Regions from separate parts of the Homo sapiens genome. Here region 2 is linked to region 1. The links are contacts of gene promoters, found by promoter capture Hi-C in blood cells and fetal thymus (Javierre and others, 2016). All regions are on one chromosome and are shown on one strand. The core of a region is centred on a gene start or on the middle of the fragment in contact, and the rest is flanking DNA. Distances in the headings are between cores, read along the strand shown. Region 1 holds the start of ERCC6 (ERCC excision repair 6, chromatin remodeling factor). Region 2 has its middle 13 kb from the start of DRGX.

Region 1 (7,437 bases), core at 220-2,719:
GTGACATCTGATAAGTCAGTCAGGTCGAAAGTAAAGTGAACGTCTTGCAAGGAAACAACGTGTGAAATTTTTTTTTTTTTTGAGACGGAATTTCGCTCCGGTTGCCCAGGCTGGAGTGCAACCTCCGCCAGGCTCCGCCAGGCTCACTGCAACCTCCGCCTTCCGGGTTCAAGCGATTCTCCTGCCTTGGCCTCCCGATTAGCTGGGATTACAGGCATATGCCATCATGCCCGGCTAATTTTTCGTATTTAGTAAAGACAGGGTTTCACCACGTTGGTAAGGCTGGTCTCGAACTCCTGACCTCGGGTGATCCACCCACCTCGGCCTCCCAACAACGTGCGTAACTTTTAAGACTAGAAAGAGCTGATGCACTTGTGAAAATGCAAGAAGGCTGGAACACCGAATTTTTGACTTTATTTTTAACTTTGAGTTAAGAAGAGCAGAGAAGGGCTCCGTTCATGGCCTAAGTCTTGCAGAGTATCTTCTAAGGCTTAATCATCTGGGACACTAGTATCTTCACCGTCCTCCCCCATCACTGGGGCTCCCGCAGCCAGGGGCAAGCTGGGTCTCATTTGGAGGGTTGGTCGGACACAGGCACAGTTCTGAGAGGGGACAGGCAAGGGCCAAATCACACAAGGCCTGGGAAAACACGAGCATGGATTCCACTCCCAGTGCAATGGAATGACTCTGAAAACTGTTAAGTAGGCTGATGATGGCATGACCTACTTTATGCCAGAGACCACCTGGACAACTGTGCGGATAATGGATTGGAGGAGACAAAGCAACAAGAAGATGATGGGAAAAGTTGAGGAGAAAAGCGAGGGCTGCCTGTCACAGGATGACAGCAGTTAAGACGCTGCGTGGAAGTCACGTAACAGCAGCATTTACAGGCGGCCTGCCTCATCCGCCCACACTCTTATCAATTTGACTCTATCAACGCCCAAAACGTCGGACGTACATCTAGCCCGACTCTCTTTAAAATAACAGCTCCAGCATTTTAATCGAGATCAAAAAGGACCCAGCTGACCCTGCGCGCAGGGGGCCTTATACAAAGTCGGAGAAGTAGCTGGGTCGCTGGCCGGCCAGGGACTCAAGCCGCCTCAGGTGAGCGCTCCTTGGCGCTACTTCCGGTCTCAGGTGAGGCCGCCGGAAGCGGGCACTTGGCCCTAAGACCCGCTACAGTGCGTCCTCGCTGACAGGCTCAATCACCACGGCGAGGCCAAGGCGCGGGGCCGCGGCCCGCCCGAGAAGCCTGAGCTGGGCCCCGACACCCCCTGCCCGACATTCGGCCGGGACCCCCGAACACTCACCCAGGGCCGCGCGAGCGCCCACAAGGAAACAGAGACGCTACCGCCGCCAGCCGCCTTGGAACCCAGCTCGACGGGCCGTGGCGCCTGCGCCCTCAGCTCAACCATAGACACCGCCCCCAACAGCGACTCCGACTTCTGCTGGTGCGGGGAGGCCCGTGGCGCATGCGCCTGGCTCAGCGTTTGTTTTTAAGCACGGGCAAGACCACGTGGTTTGGAGGGACGGGCTCAGCAGCGCCTTTCTACTTGCGTGCGAGCAGGGCGAGAAAGCTGTCTCCGCTGCCGGTCAGCTGGGTGGCTTGCGAAGGACGCTTCGCCCCTAGCGAAAAATACCCTGCTGGCAAGGCAGTTATGAAAGTTAAGACATATTTCCACGTAGAGGGGGATGCGGGTGTGCCATGCGAATGTAAATCCTCACAATTAACCTTGAACCCTGCAGAGAAAGTCAGCTTGGGCAGGGAAGTTAGCCGCACTTTTTGGTCGCCAGGCTGTGACCTCTCTTGTTGTCTCCCACGACTGAACACGGGAAGGATGGAGAGCTGTCCTGCTTCTCTGTTCCCCCTCCGCCACGCGCGCACCTGGGCGGAGTGAGTGCCTACAGAGCCTGCTTACATGTGTACATTGCCTTAAGTCCAGCGTTTAGTATCCGTCCTCAGATCTCAGAGGTAGGCGGGGTTTCGAGGCAGGCGAGAATTTTACCGTGGTGCGTTTGAAGAAAGAAGATGTCCACACAGAGGTTCAGAACAATGGGAGGAAGTTGAGCTTCGCCTGGGGAAAGAAGCAGCCCACGATGCAGGATGGCTGTACCAGACAGAGCTTCTCAGCTCAGGATCGGTGCTAGGAGAAGGTGGACTTTCCAGGGCCGCGAGGCAGGACGTCCTCTGGGAGGGCAGTGACTGCGGGTCACTGCCTGGGAAGTGCTGTCCTCACTTGGAAGCCTGAAGTCGGACAATAGGGAAATGGGGTCGGAAAGGGGACTAGGAAATGCTCCATAACATCATCTTATTCCTCCTGTCAGCGGCCCCAACCCACAATGTAACTTGTTTTTGTTGGTGGTAGTGGGTTTTTTTGTTTGTTTTGTTTTTGTTTTTGTTTTTGAGACGGAGTTTTGCTCTTGTCGCCCAGGATGGAGTACAATGGCACGATGTGGGCTCACTGCAACCTCCTCCTCCCAGGTTCAAGCGATTCTCCTGCCTCAGCCTGCCGGGTAGCTGGGATTACAGGCGCCTGCCACCATGCCCAGCTAATTTTTGTGTTTTTAGTAGAGACGGGGTTTCGTCATGTTAGCCAAGCTGTCCGCGAACTCCTGACCTCAGGTGATCCACCCGCCTCGGCCTCCTAGAGTTCTGGGATTACAGGTGTGAGCCACCACGCCCGGCTTGTAACTTGCTTTTTTTTTTTTTTAAAGGAGAAAGAATTCTAGCGATTTCTTGGATAAAATATTAAGAATAGAAAGGCAGTTGATTGACATTAGTTTCAATGCTTGAAAGTAAAAGCAGATATATAGTGGATCCCAACTTTTGAGACTGAGGTTCCCTTTGCAGCTATTTTGGAGACCCTTCCTATATCAGAATTTGGACAGGAAAAAATGGTCCACTCAAAAGGGGAAGTTGAGAGTTATTATTTACAAAGACGTGGGCGGGGTTCAGGAAAACAACTCAGGGTGGCACAACTGGAGCTATTAAGGGCCGAATTGTGTCCCCTCCCCAAAATTCATATGCTGGAGTCCTAACCGCCACTCCCCACCCCCACCCCGGGACCTCAGAATGTGACTGTATTTGAAGATAGGGTCTTTAATGAGGGAATTTAGTTAAATGAGGTCCCAAGTTATTTAGCAAGTCGTCCAAGCCCTTTTATACTCCTGCCCCATCTAATTTTTCTGCATCACTTGTGTCCTTCACTCCCTGGATGCCTATGCTCAGGATTTAGGGAACTACTTACTCTTCTCCCAGGAAGGGTGTGCTACAATTGGCTTCTACGGCCTAGCAAGCATACTGTTCACCTCTTCCCAGCTGCCTTAGCTCAGGCTGCCATAACAAATGCCATAGACTGGGCAGCTTAAACAACAGGCATTTGTTTCTCATAGTTCTGGAGGCTGGGAAGTCCAAGATCAAATGCAGGCAGATTTAGCTCATTTAGGGGAAGCTCTCCTCATGGCTTGCAAATGGTTACCTTCTCACTGTGTCCTTACATGGGGTAGAGAGAGGGCTCTGTCTTCCCTTTCTTCTAAGGCATCAGCCGTATTGGATTAGGGACTCACCCTTATGATCTCATTTAACCAGATTTGCTGCCTAAAGACCCTGTCTCCAAATAGTCACATTGAGGGTTAGGGATTCAGCATATGAATTTGGGGGGCACCCAGTTTAGCCCATAGCACCAACTCTGCCTTTGTTGACTTCACATTAATAGCTTGAAATCAGCCATAGTAGGAGTATTTATACCACAGAAATGGACAAACTATAAACTGGAACTTTGGGGGAGAGGCAATTATTAATCTTTTCCCACATACCCCTACTTGTTATTCTGTCACTTCTGTGATCTTACAAGCAGGTCCCTCTGCTTAGAATTCTCTTACCCATTCCAAACTCAGACAAAGTTTCTCTTTTCTGAAGCTTTCCCCTACCCTCTGACAGCAATAGGCTCTTGCATCTCCTGTGTACCCCCAAACCAATATTTCTAATGTCATTATTATAGTAGTTATTGATTTGGATTTTAATCCATTTTCCCTACCATTTCCTAGCCCTTACTCTAAGCTGGGCATTATTTTAAACACCCCACCCAAGGGGTTCTTCCTGCCCACTGCATAAAGAAAGACCATAGCATTGTGGTAGAAAAAGAGCTTAATAGACACGAGGCCGACCATGCCAGGTGGGAGATGGAGTGCATGCTCAGGTCATCTGATCCAAAGTCCGAAGCTCATAGGCTGGGGGTTTTTCAAACGCAGTTTGGAGGAAGGGGTGGGAGTGGCCAGGTAACAGGTGCTTGCTGCTGATTGGTTGAGGCTGAGATGAAATCATAGGGGGAGTCAAAGCTGTCCTCCTGCAGTCTGAATCACTTCTGGGTGGGGCTGTGGGAGTGGGGTTGGCGGTCCAGGTGGAGCCATGGGTGTCAGACATGCAAAAAACCTGGAAAGATATCTCAAAAAGCTACAAATAGTGGTTGTATTAGTCTGCTCTCGTGCTGCTAATAAAGACATACCCAAGACTGGGTAATTTATAAAGGAAAGAGGTTTAATTGACTCACAGTTAAGCATGGCTGGGGAGGCCTCTGGAAACTTACAATCATGGTGACAGGGGGAGCAAACATGTCCTACTTCACATGGTGGCAGCAAGGAGAAGTGCAGAGTGAAGGAGGGGGAAAGCCCCTTATAAAACCATCAGATCTCGTGAGAACTCACTATCAGAACAGCATGGAGGTAACCACCCTCACGATTCAGTTATCTCCCACCGGCTTCCTCCCACAACATGTAGGGATTATGGAAACTACAATTCAGGATGAGATTTGGGTGGGGACACAGCCAAACCATATCAGTGGTGTTATTTGCAGGAGTAATTGGGAAAGTTGAGTATCTTATAACCTCCAGAATAATGACTGACAATCGTTCATATCTGCGCCTTAGCAGGACTCAGGCTCCTCTCCTCCCCCACAGCCTGATAGCTTCCCATTAGCTTTACAAAAACAGTTGAGTTTCAGGCAAGGTCTGTTATCATGTAAACTATAGCCTAAATGTCTCTCAAAGTTAGCTGGCCCCAGTAGCTTAGAAATAATTAAGGGAAAGGCAAGATAGGTGTTGGAATGGGGGCGTTAACTCAGACCTCTTTCACTGTCATAATTTTCTAACTGATATAATTTTTGCAAAGGTGGTTTCATTGTCTTGAGTGCTTTACTAATGTTAACTTGTTTAACTATGACGATATTCATCCTTGCGCCTTTATTTCACATTTCGTGTTCAATATAAGGAATTCTCCCAATGACCTACAGAACAGAGGTCTGAGTTGACTCTCACTTTTCAAAACTTCTGGGTAACGGCAGTGCAACAAAACCGGTTTGGTTCTCTGATCCTTATAAATGGGGAAAACTCATGAAAAATAATTAGATGTATTGGAAACACAATAAATACTTTGTAAAAATTATAAATCAAAAAAGAAGCAAAAGCATATTATTTAGAACTGTGTTGGCAACCACTAGAAAAACATGTTAAATGTATGTTGAATAAATGAATCAGCAAGCTTAAAAGCAATGAATGTATAAAACCATCCATTGTGAACTGTTACCAGGAAGGATTCCCGATCCAGATGCCGAGAGAGTTCTTAGACCTTGAGTAAGAAAGAATTCGGGGCAAGTCCATAGAGTAAAGTGAAAGCAAGTTTATTAGGAGAGTAAAGGAATAAAGAATGGCTACTCCATAGGCAGAACAGCAACTTGGGCTGCTTGATGAGAATACTTATAGTTATTTCTTGATTATATGCTAAAGAAGGGGTAGATTATTCCTGAGTTTTCTAGGAAAGGGGTGGGTAATTCCCAGAACTGAGGGTTCTTCCCATTTTTAAACCATATAGGGTAACTTTCTGATATTGCCATGGCATTTGTAAGCTGTCATGTGCTGATAGGAGTGTCTCTTAGCATGCTAATGCATTATAATTAGCATATAAGGAAGAGTGAGGATGACCAGACATCACTTTCATTGCCATCTTGGTTTTCGTGGGTTTTGGCCAGCTTCTTTACCGCAAACTGTTTAATCAGCAAGGTCTTTGTCACCTGTATCTTGTGCCAACCTCCTACCTCATCCTGTGACTTAGAATGCCTGCCCTCTTGGGAATACAGCTCAGTAGGTCTCAGCCTTATTTCACCCAGCCCCAATTCAAGATGGAATCACTCTGGTTCAAATGCCTCTGACATATTTCTCCCTTCCCTTTTACAAGGGAACGCCTAATCCAAAGGGTAGTAGAGGGACAAAGATCCATCTTCTGTAACTTCTTCAAGCTGAATAAGGGCTATGCTACTCCTACCTAACTATTATGGTCTCTTGTATTCAGGGTAGTGAGGAGCTCAGTCAGAAGGCATCACTATGGTGAGGGACATTCATAACTCTTGAGGGCAAAAGGTGATATCTGGAAGATTAAAAAGTATTCAATTTAATTAAACATTGAGTAAGCTTATCCTGCACTCCCACACGGAGTACAACAGCAATATGTTCCACAACGGTAAAGCAAAATAAGTAAAACTATCCCAAGTAAACTAAATTAGAAGGCTTTCCATGAACTCGGCAACAGCTGGAACTGGGCAAGCTGATATGAAGTTGCTGTACATGCTATATGTTCCAATTAGAATTAGAATATTGATCCAGATTTTTACATTACCCATTTCTGTTATTTTTTTTCTGAGCAGCAGCCAGAGATCACTGGTTAGTTGGCAGGAAAAAGTAGGGTTAGTCTAAATTGCAAGGAAGAAAAAACCCTTAAAAATAACTGATGAGACTAGAATCTAATAACAGGTGTACCATAGTTGAAACATAACTTTTTTCTCTCTTCAGGCTCCCACTTTTATTAAAGACAAATCATGGTAAGACTGATTTGCTTCCAACTAAATAAATTTAGTTTTATACTTGGCCTGATTCTTCGTAAAAAGGGCAGCAAGAATAATTATTTTTCACATGGGTTTTTTTTTTGTAATTGGATTTGATGGATCTTTGTTCTATAAGGAATTTTAAATAAGACTTTTTTTAAAACTGAGCCCAGCCATGGGTTGCTGCCATCAAATACCTGTAAGTTGGGTAAATTCCTCTCCTCCTGAGGTCCCAAGATATTGGTGCTCCTGGGCCTCTCAGAAAGTTGCATTCTTTACTTATTACAGACCAAGAACCCTGTACAAGGACTGTGTAGACAAGGTATGAGGCCAGTTTTCCCAAGGGGCTTTTATTGTCTCTATAAGTCAAGTTTGATTCCTTGAAGCAGTTTGTTTATATTTGAAAGCATGCCATTCCAGTCAAAGGCTTGGTAAAATAATCAGTTCCTCCAACTGTGTCCTGTTGTAAAAGAAAACAGATTCTTACTGCACTTATGTAAATAACTATATTGCCATAAGAATACTCACAAATAGTTTCCAAATTCTGGAGAAATCAGGTAGAGAG
Region 2 (7,348 bases), core at 1,507-4,006, 130 kb before region 1:
GTGCTGGGCTGGTGTCCTTCAGTGCTCTCTGGGACAAGTCAGGCCTTGAATAATCGCATGAATTAAAGAGGGACAATCAATTGTCTCTTCTTTCCTGTATCTGTTACTAAAGGTTGCTGAGGGCCTTTAGAGAGTCACCTTCTACATGGTCATGGGGATACACGGTGTGCGAGCCAGGTGAACACCCTCTCCAGTCTTACAGGAAAGGCTGCAGCAGTGGGAAGGCACTTCTCCCTAGCCTGCTTCTCTTGACTGCACCCACAAACCATCCCAATGGCTACTCTCCCACCACTCTGCAGCTGAAGTCATAGAATGGATATGGGGCTTCATGTCCCAAATCCTTATTGCTGCTTTCCAGCTCTTTGGTTGTCTTAGCTTTTTGAGCATCATTTTTCCCATCTGCAAAGCCAAAAGGATTCCCATCATGGAAGAACTACTGTGTGAAATGGTAACATTCTCCACAGCTGATGGTGGTGGTTAGCAACTGTGACAGCCTTTCAGAAAACAGAGGAGGGGGGCAGCCCTTCCACATCTGCATATCTGTCCTCACTCCTGAAATGCCCCCCGTCTTTCTCTCTCTCCCTCTCTCTCCTTCCTCCTTTTCTCTCTCCTCCTCCTCTTCCCTTTTTCCCACCCTCTCTCCCTACTCTCCCCTCCACTCCCTCCTTCCCTTCCTCTTTCCCTTCCCTCCCACTCCCTCTCCCTCTCTCCTCACCCCTTTCCCTCTCCCCTCCCTTCTGTCCCTCTTCCCCCTTTTCCTTCTCCTCCTGCCTGTCCCCACCCAGGTCCAGACTCTGTCTGGCAACATCTATGCTAAACTCTGCTGTGTCCAAGTAATGCCTACTCCCCATTCCCTGCAATGGCTCTCCCAGGAGCACCTGCCTTGGCTCTCATGTCCTCGCCCCTTTAACCAGGAAATTGTGTTTGGAGTTGGGGGGTAGGAATGCAGAAGGGGTGAAGGGAAGGGGACCCTCATTTCTTACTTTAGGCAAAGGTTACCTTCTGGCTGTCCAGCCAGTGGGAGCATTGAGTTGTTTGGCCAGTGTCAGTATTAGAGTCGTTTTGTATTTTCTAAAATGTGAAAACAATTGCACGGAATGCATCTGGCGGAGGTTCTGGTCCCTTGGAATATCTCACCCCTCACACAAGGATACTTTCTGTCTCTTGTCTGAAGGCAGCTGAACTTATAATCCCTGAATGTATTTTTTAAGTGCTTTGTTTATGGCTGACTTTCCTTTTATTATGCTCTTCAGAAAAAGTTGTCTAAAGGAAAATCAATCAATCAATGAATTAAATGTTTAAAAAAATTTTAACGAAGGACATAAGACAAAAAATTAAAACTAGCAGTGGGAGGTGGCTCATGCCTGTAGTCCCAGCACTTTGGGAGGCTGAGGCAGGCCCAGGAGTTCCAGACAAGCCTGGACAACATGGCAAAACCCCATCTGTACAAAAAATACAAAAATTTGCTGGGCTAATTTTTGTTATTTTCTTAAAATAAATTTTCAGTAGATACATGATCTGATCAAAGAATAAGCATATTGCAGATGCCTCAAATTACTCACAGTCCTTCCTATTTCTGTGAAAGCCCATCAGTGACCATTGGCATGCAAGTATTTTTCTCTTCATCTTCACTTCCACCTTGAGCAACCTTCAGCTCCCCCTCCTTAACCAAGTGGCCCATCCTCTTGGGTGGTGAGACACCCACGAGCACAGCTCCATGTGGAAAACTACATCCATCATGCAAATCCCAGAGGCCTCTGAGTCAGCCACTCTAGTCAGTGGTGGCAAAGTTAGAGCCAGGCAGGGTCTCAGGGACGGCCTGGGATGTTGGACACTTATGTGAGGACCCAGGCCAGGGACAGAGGTCTGTAGGAAAGCCCTGAGCCTCCAGATAGATGCTTCAGTAAAGAGGCTGGCTGGGGGAAGAGGTCATAAGCAGGTAGCCCAAAGCTAAAGGTCTCTGGGGTGGAGCTGGAAGCCTGTAGAGGCAGGTCCTAGGACAATCAGTCATGAGGTCAGGGGTCTGTTTTCCGTGGCCAGGAAAAAAGATACTCACAAGTTCAGATAGTAAAGGAGTCAAGGTCAAGGCTGCTGGCTGTTTCTCCCAGGCAGGGTCATCTAGCATGTGGCATATGGTGGTCCTCAGAGCCTCCCCTGAACCCGCTTGGCTCCTCCCACGGTCTCAGAGGGCTGTCAGCAGCAGATGGGGCTCTCTGCCTACAGCCCTACAGAGAGACTCCTCAGTGGCCATACTTTCTGGGTCACTGGACAGAACTATAAACTCCATAAAAATGTAAATTCAGAGTAGTAACCACTGCCTCCGAGGGAGCACAGGGGAAACAGTGGGAAGCCAGGTAGCCTGCCACCAATCGTGGGAAAAGGGAAGTGGGGGCAGGGAGGGGTCTCTGCATCCCCAACATTCTCCCAGCTCAACTTCCTCAGACTGGGCTGAGAAGAGGCATTAACCTACTTGGTACTTTCTGAAACAGCTGCTGCTGTCCTGAAGTTGCACAGAGCCACCCAGCCCAGAATCATCCTCACTGATTTCAGCCAGAGCCAACAGCTGCCACCAGGTGGCACCAAACTGCAGACGGAGTAGCTCCTTTTCCGCTGGAGAGAGCTTCATGTGGATGGCAGGAGCCAGGGCCAATCTGGGTGTTCCTGCTCCTACTAAGGCCCTGGAACAGCCTGGGGTATCAGAAATTGCAAATGCCTGCTGGGTGGAGAATGGATGGATAGGTGGGTGGATGGAAGGAGGAAGGAGGAATGAAAAAATGGATGGATGAAGGGACAGATGATGGAGTTCATTCTACCTCCCTAGCCCCACAGTAGCTGGGCACCCCTTCTCCTTTAGGTGGGCACCACAGGTGAAGCTGGAGATGTGCCCTGGACCTCACAACTCCAACTCAAGAATATGTCCTCCCAGGTGCCTCTGCCTCTAGCTCCACCTGAGGTACACAGCCTGGAGAGAGGGCCTTTATTGAATAAATTAGTGGGGACAAGGTCTGCCTTCTGTGTCAGGGGGTAGAGAGCAAGAGGTCACTGGGGTGTCCTCACACTCTGCATCACACCGGGGGCAGTCGGGGAGAAAACCCATTCCTGTACCCCGTTCCCACTCCAGCCTGGCCAGACACCATCACCCACCTTCCCACCAGTCCTTGCCCTTCCCACTGTCTGGAAAGCTGCCCCTGGGTGGCCTTCAAGACTCTGGCCCTCACTTCATCCTAATCTCGGCTTAAAGTCTTCTCTTCAAGAGAAGACTTCCGAGACGAAAGAAGCCCAATTCTCGTCCCCACTACTCTCCACCTTTATTCTTGCTTTGGTTTCCTGCTTAGCTGTTAAGTCCTTCTCAAATGCTTTATTGGCACATGCTTGGTGTCTGTCTCAGTGCTCTCATGCAAGCTCCACGGTGCACCCTGGCTTCTAGAACAGCACCTGGCATGCAGCATTTTGTTACGTAAATGAGCCCCAGCTCCCCTACTGGCTGGACCAGCAATAGGCAGCCCCTGGTCCCCATGGCTACCCCCAGCCGGACTCCCCTCCACCAGGAGAGTTCATTATCCCTGAGAAGTTCACCGTTGCAGTAAAAAGGCGACACCTCCTTAATTACCCTGCTAATTACAAGTCCTGTAGTCCTCAACTGTGCACCAACACCGTTGCAAATCTCATTTCCTTGCAAAGTCCAGGATAAACAAATCCAATATATTTTGTTTTAATTATTGCTGTTTAATGGACCATAATGAAACTATAGTGAGGGTGCACAAAAGGAGATCATTTGGAGTATCCACCTGTGCAGGTCCAGTGGTGAGTGGGAGCCTCGATGTTCAGGTTTCATTTACCGTAATCCCAGCTGCCTCTCTGTGCCCAGAAATCCCATCACTTATTTATCGGCCTTGCCTTTGGCTCTGAGCCCGCCACCAGGGCAGGATGTCTGCCCTCCTGGAGAGCAATCTAAAACCCGAGGACCTCGGGGATGGTGGAATTTCTCCACATGCCAGGTGCCTGGATTTGACAAGCCACACAAAAAGGCATTTTGTTTTATCTCAGGGTTTTTTCTTTTTTCCATTTTTACAGGCTAAAACAGTTTATCATACATATATTGACTATATTGTATTTTTTTAAGTTGTTTGTGCCGGGCCAAGGTGGGGGGACTTCCTCTTCTCCGCCTGTTTTCTTTTTGAAAGGTTCATAGCTTGTGAGAGCTTTTAATGTCATAAGGCTTTCATCTTCCATTTGTCATCTGTGACACAGATGTTTTTCCCAATTTCTTGTGTGGCAGTGGTTGTGTGTCCACTCACATGACAGTCTCAACTGCCTCGGCCCTTTTAGTCTTGGTGAGGGTGGGAGACAGCCCCCAAGGCCCCATTCCCCCAGAAAGTCCTTGCGGCAGGAACATCAGAGCTCCACCAGTTGGGTGAGGTAGCACCCGGCACTGATTCTCTGGCTACCCAAGAAGAGAGACCCTCTCCTTGCCAACCCCAGCAGGGCCTGTCTCACCCATCTTCCCCCCAAGGGCCTTCCTCCTTCCTGCCCTCCTGCATCCCTGGCTCTTCAACCTCTTTATTCCCATCTTGCATTCAGGCTCCTGGCTTTTTGAGTCTTTGTTTCTACTTAGGAAGGGATTAGGGGAGGACAAAACAACCTGGGACACCAAAGAGGGAAGAAAGGGGAAAGAAATCTGCAAGAAAGCCACACAGTCCAGGAGCGCGTCCAGCAGGACAGCTGGACTTCACCGGTGTGTTTTCTCAGAAAGTCTTCTAAACCCTGTGGCCCTCCCCAGGTCTGCAGGTGGGGCTCCTTTCAGAATTCACCATCATCAAAGGAGCACTAGATGGCAGGATTGGGGGAGGCTGTGTCAGCAGCAGAGGAGGTGGGAGGACCTTTGAGACTGCTGCAGGTGAAGCTGGGCTCTGCAGACCCACATCGGGCTCCTTACTCACTGTCCTTGACCCTAGAGAGCCCAGACAGCCCCAGGAGGAAGTGGCAGATGCCCCTCTCTGGGATTCCTTGGCTCAGCCTGGGGCCGGCCCCGGGCACACAAAAAACCAGAGGGGAGCTGAGGCAAGTAGCGGGCTTATCTGGCTCCTAATTATGGTCCTGGGGTTATTGGGAGAAAGTGGGTCTTGTATGTGCTTCTATCTATTCAATCAACAAACTGTTGCCAGGCCAGAGGGTCCCAGGCATTCCCAGGGTTGTCCTGCTGTGGGGGCACCTGCGTAGTGATGGGACAGAGGGCTCTGCAGGTGCACTAAGGAGTTTATTCCCATTTTGCTGCTGCCAGCAGCCTGTGCTTTTATAGATTCATTCCTGCGGTCCTGTTACCTCCCCCTTATCTTTATTAAGTAGCAGACATGTTCCTAACACCAGGCCTGGGCACTCTGCCCAGCCTGGGCACTGCCAGGCCTGGGCACTGCAGAGGAGTGCTGGCAAAACCAGCTCCCGGGTGCTCCCAGCCCAGCCCCACACCATCTTCTTGGCTGGCTTTTATGTGAACTAGTGTTTGTCTCATCTCCTCACTAGAGATGAGTGTCTCTTGCTTTCTATTTGCTTACTGTGCCATTTATTCCCCCATAAGCCCTTTAAGAGACGTGGTATTTCCCATTCTTTGCAGATAAGAAGCCTGCCACTCACAGAGGTGAGGGAATTTTCCTAAGGTCACACAGCTGGGTGGCCAGGGACAGAGCCAGGTTCAAATGCAGGACTTTGAACATATCCTCGGTTCACAGAGGGCTGGGATGGGACTGTCTTCACCTCCCCGCACCCCAGGTCTGCAGGGCACCGAGAGACTGTCCTTGAATGGCACCTTAGGTTGATCTAGGAACCCTGAGTTAGGAGAAGCCTCAGAGGTCACCAGAACCTCATTCATGCCAGGCAGGAGCCCACCAGGACCTGGCAAATGAAGCCTGAAGATGCCCCTGCCTGGCTGTCCCCACCTTCCCCCACAGACACCCCTGTCTCCCAGTCAGATCCAAAGAACACACAGAACACATCTGCTCTCTTTTTAAATCAGTTACGTTTTTTCTTTTAAATAAAATTATATATCTTCACTGAAGAAAATGTAGAAAACATAGCTAAATAAGAAGAGAATAAAAACCACACATGATCTCACTAATGAGAGAAAAGCTTTCCAGTGTTGACTGTAATGAATTTCTGCCTGGTGTTTTTTCTATACAAATAGTTGTAAACAAAAATAGGATCATATTGTGAAGACTTCTGTGACCAGCTTTTTGAATCAAACAGTGTTGTTGAACATCTTGCTATAAACATCATCTTCAATGTCTTCTCCATAATTTGGATGGATGGATGAATGGACGGATGGATGGATGGATGGATAGATGGAAGGATGGATGGATGGATGGAAGGATGGATGGATGGGTTTGCTTCACTTTAATCTAAGCAATACCACACATCCACAATGGACAACAGAGGAAGTTGTTCTCTTTCCACTACCTGATTGAGAGTGGTAGCTTACTGGCACGGCAGGGCTCTTGTTCTGATTTCATTAGATCTCAAATGGTCTCACTTGGGCTCCAGGAGGGTGGTCAAGAAGAGTGAAGATCAAAAAGGTTTTTCTCTCCACCACTCTGTCCCAGTGGTACAGAAACACAGGTGCCACTGGCCACCAGCTGTGCAGGGTCTCAGCTCTGCCAGTGACCTGCTTCCCTAAGCTTTATAAATTCCACTGCTGATCACCTGCTAAAGCTGACCAATTCCACCATCTCCCAGTCAGCCAGCCAGGAGAGTTTAGGTTCTGCCCGCAAACCAGGACTTCTGGACCTAAGCTGGGAAGGAGGTGGGGGAAGGCAAGAAAGCTATAAAACTCTTCCTCCTGCTTTAAAAAAACAGGACATCGCCTTGTGAGAGAAATAGCTAAATATGATCACACTGGGCTTTAAGTGGAAAAAAAGAGTTAAAAAGAAAAAGAATGACAAGAGAAGCCTCTGATCCGTTCGTTATTCATTCAATAAATACCAACGGCTGTCTCTGTGCTGGGCCAGTGTTGCCCTGGGGAACCCAGCTGTATGTTTTATGGAATAGAATAACACAGGAGGCAATAGTCCCCCCTAAGCTGGCCCCCATACCTCCCCTCAGCCAGCACCATTCCCAGGATGGATAAACCGAGGCTTAGGGAGAGTCTATGCCTCACCCAAGATCATACAGGGACTTCAATGTCATCATTAAATGAGATCTAGTGCTCTGAGTTCCCAAGTGGATATCATTTCTTCCCACACCATTCCCACTGCTCACCCTACTCAGCAGTCATGAAAAGTCAAGAGAAGCTCATGCCAGGGCGGGACCCTCCCCACAGCCACACTCTCCAGCGCTCTGTTTGCATACTCCCTCAGCA

Evidence for each region. Contacts are between HindIII fragments. The CHiCAGO score rates a contact against its expected background, and 5 or more counts as called.
Region 2: a fragment that was not itself captured here is called in contact with the fragment with the promoter of ERCC6 in region 1 in 1 of 17 cell types (total CD8 T cells); the score reaches 5.2 in total CD8 T cells.

Annotation. Positions count from the first base shown.
Region 1 is chr10:49,537,652-49,545,088 of GRCh38, forward strand. It overlaps ERCC6 (ERCC excision repair 6, chromatin remodeling factor), which reads right to left and starts at 1,470. Exons shown (of 21, transcript NM_000124.4): 1 at 1,311-1,470. RefSeq lists silencers at 1-167, 1,113-1,402 and enhancers at 1,823-1,882, 1,913-2,152. The HindIII fragment of the contact is 12,532 bases long and covers 1-3,917 here.
Region 2 is chr10:49,405,168-49,412,515 of GRCh38, forward strand. No RefSeq gene overlaps it. Among named protein-coding and RNA genes, the nearest start is that of DRGX, 13 kb to the left of the region's middle. The HindIII fragment of the contact is 6,729 bases long and covers 1-6,121 here.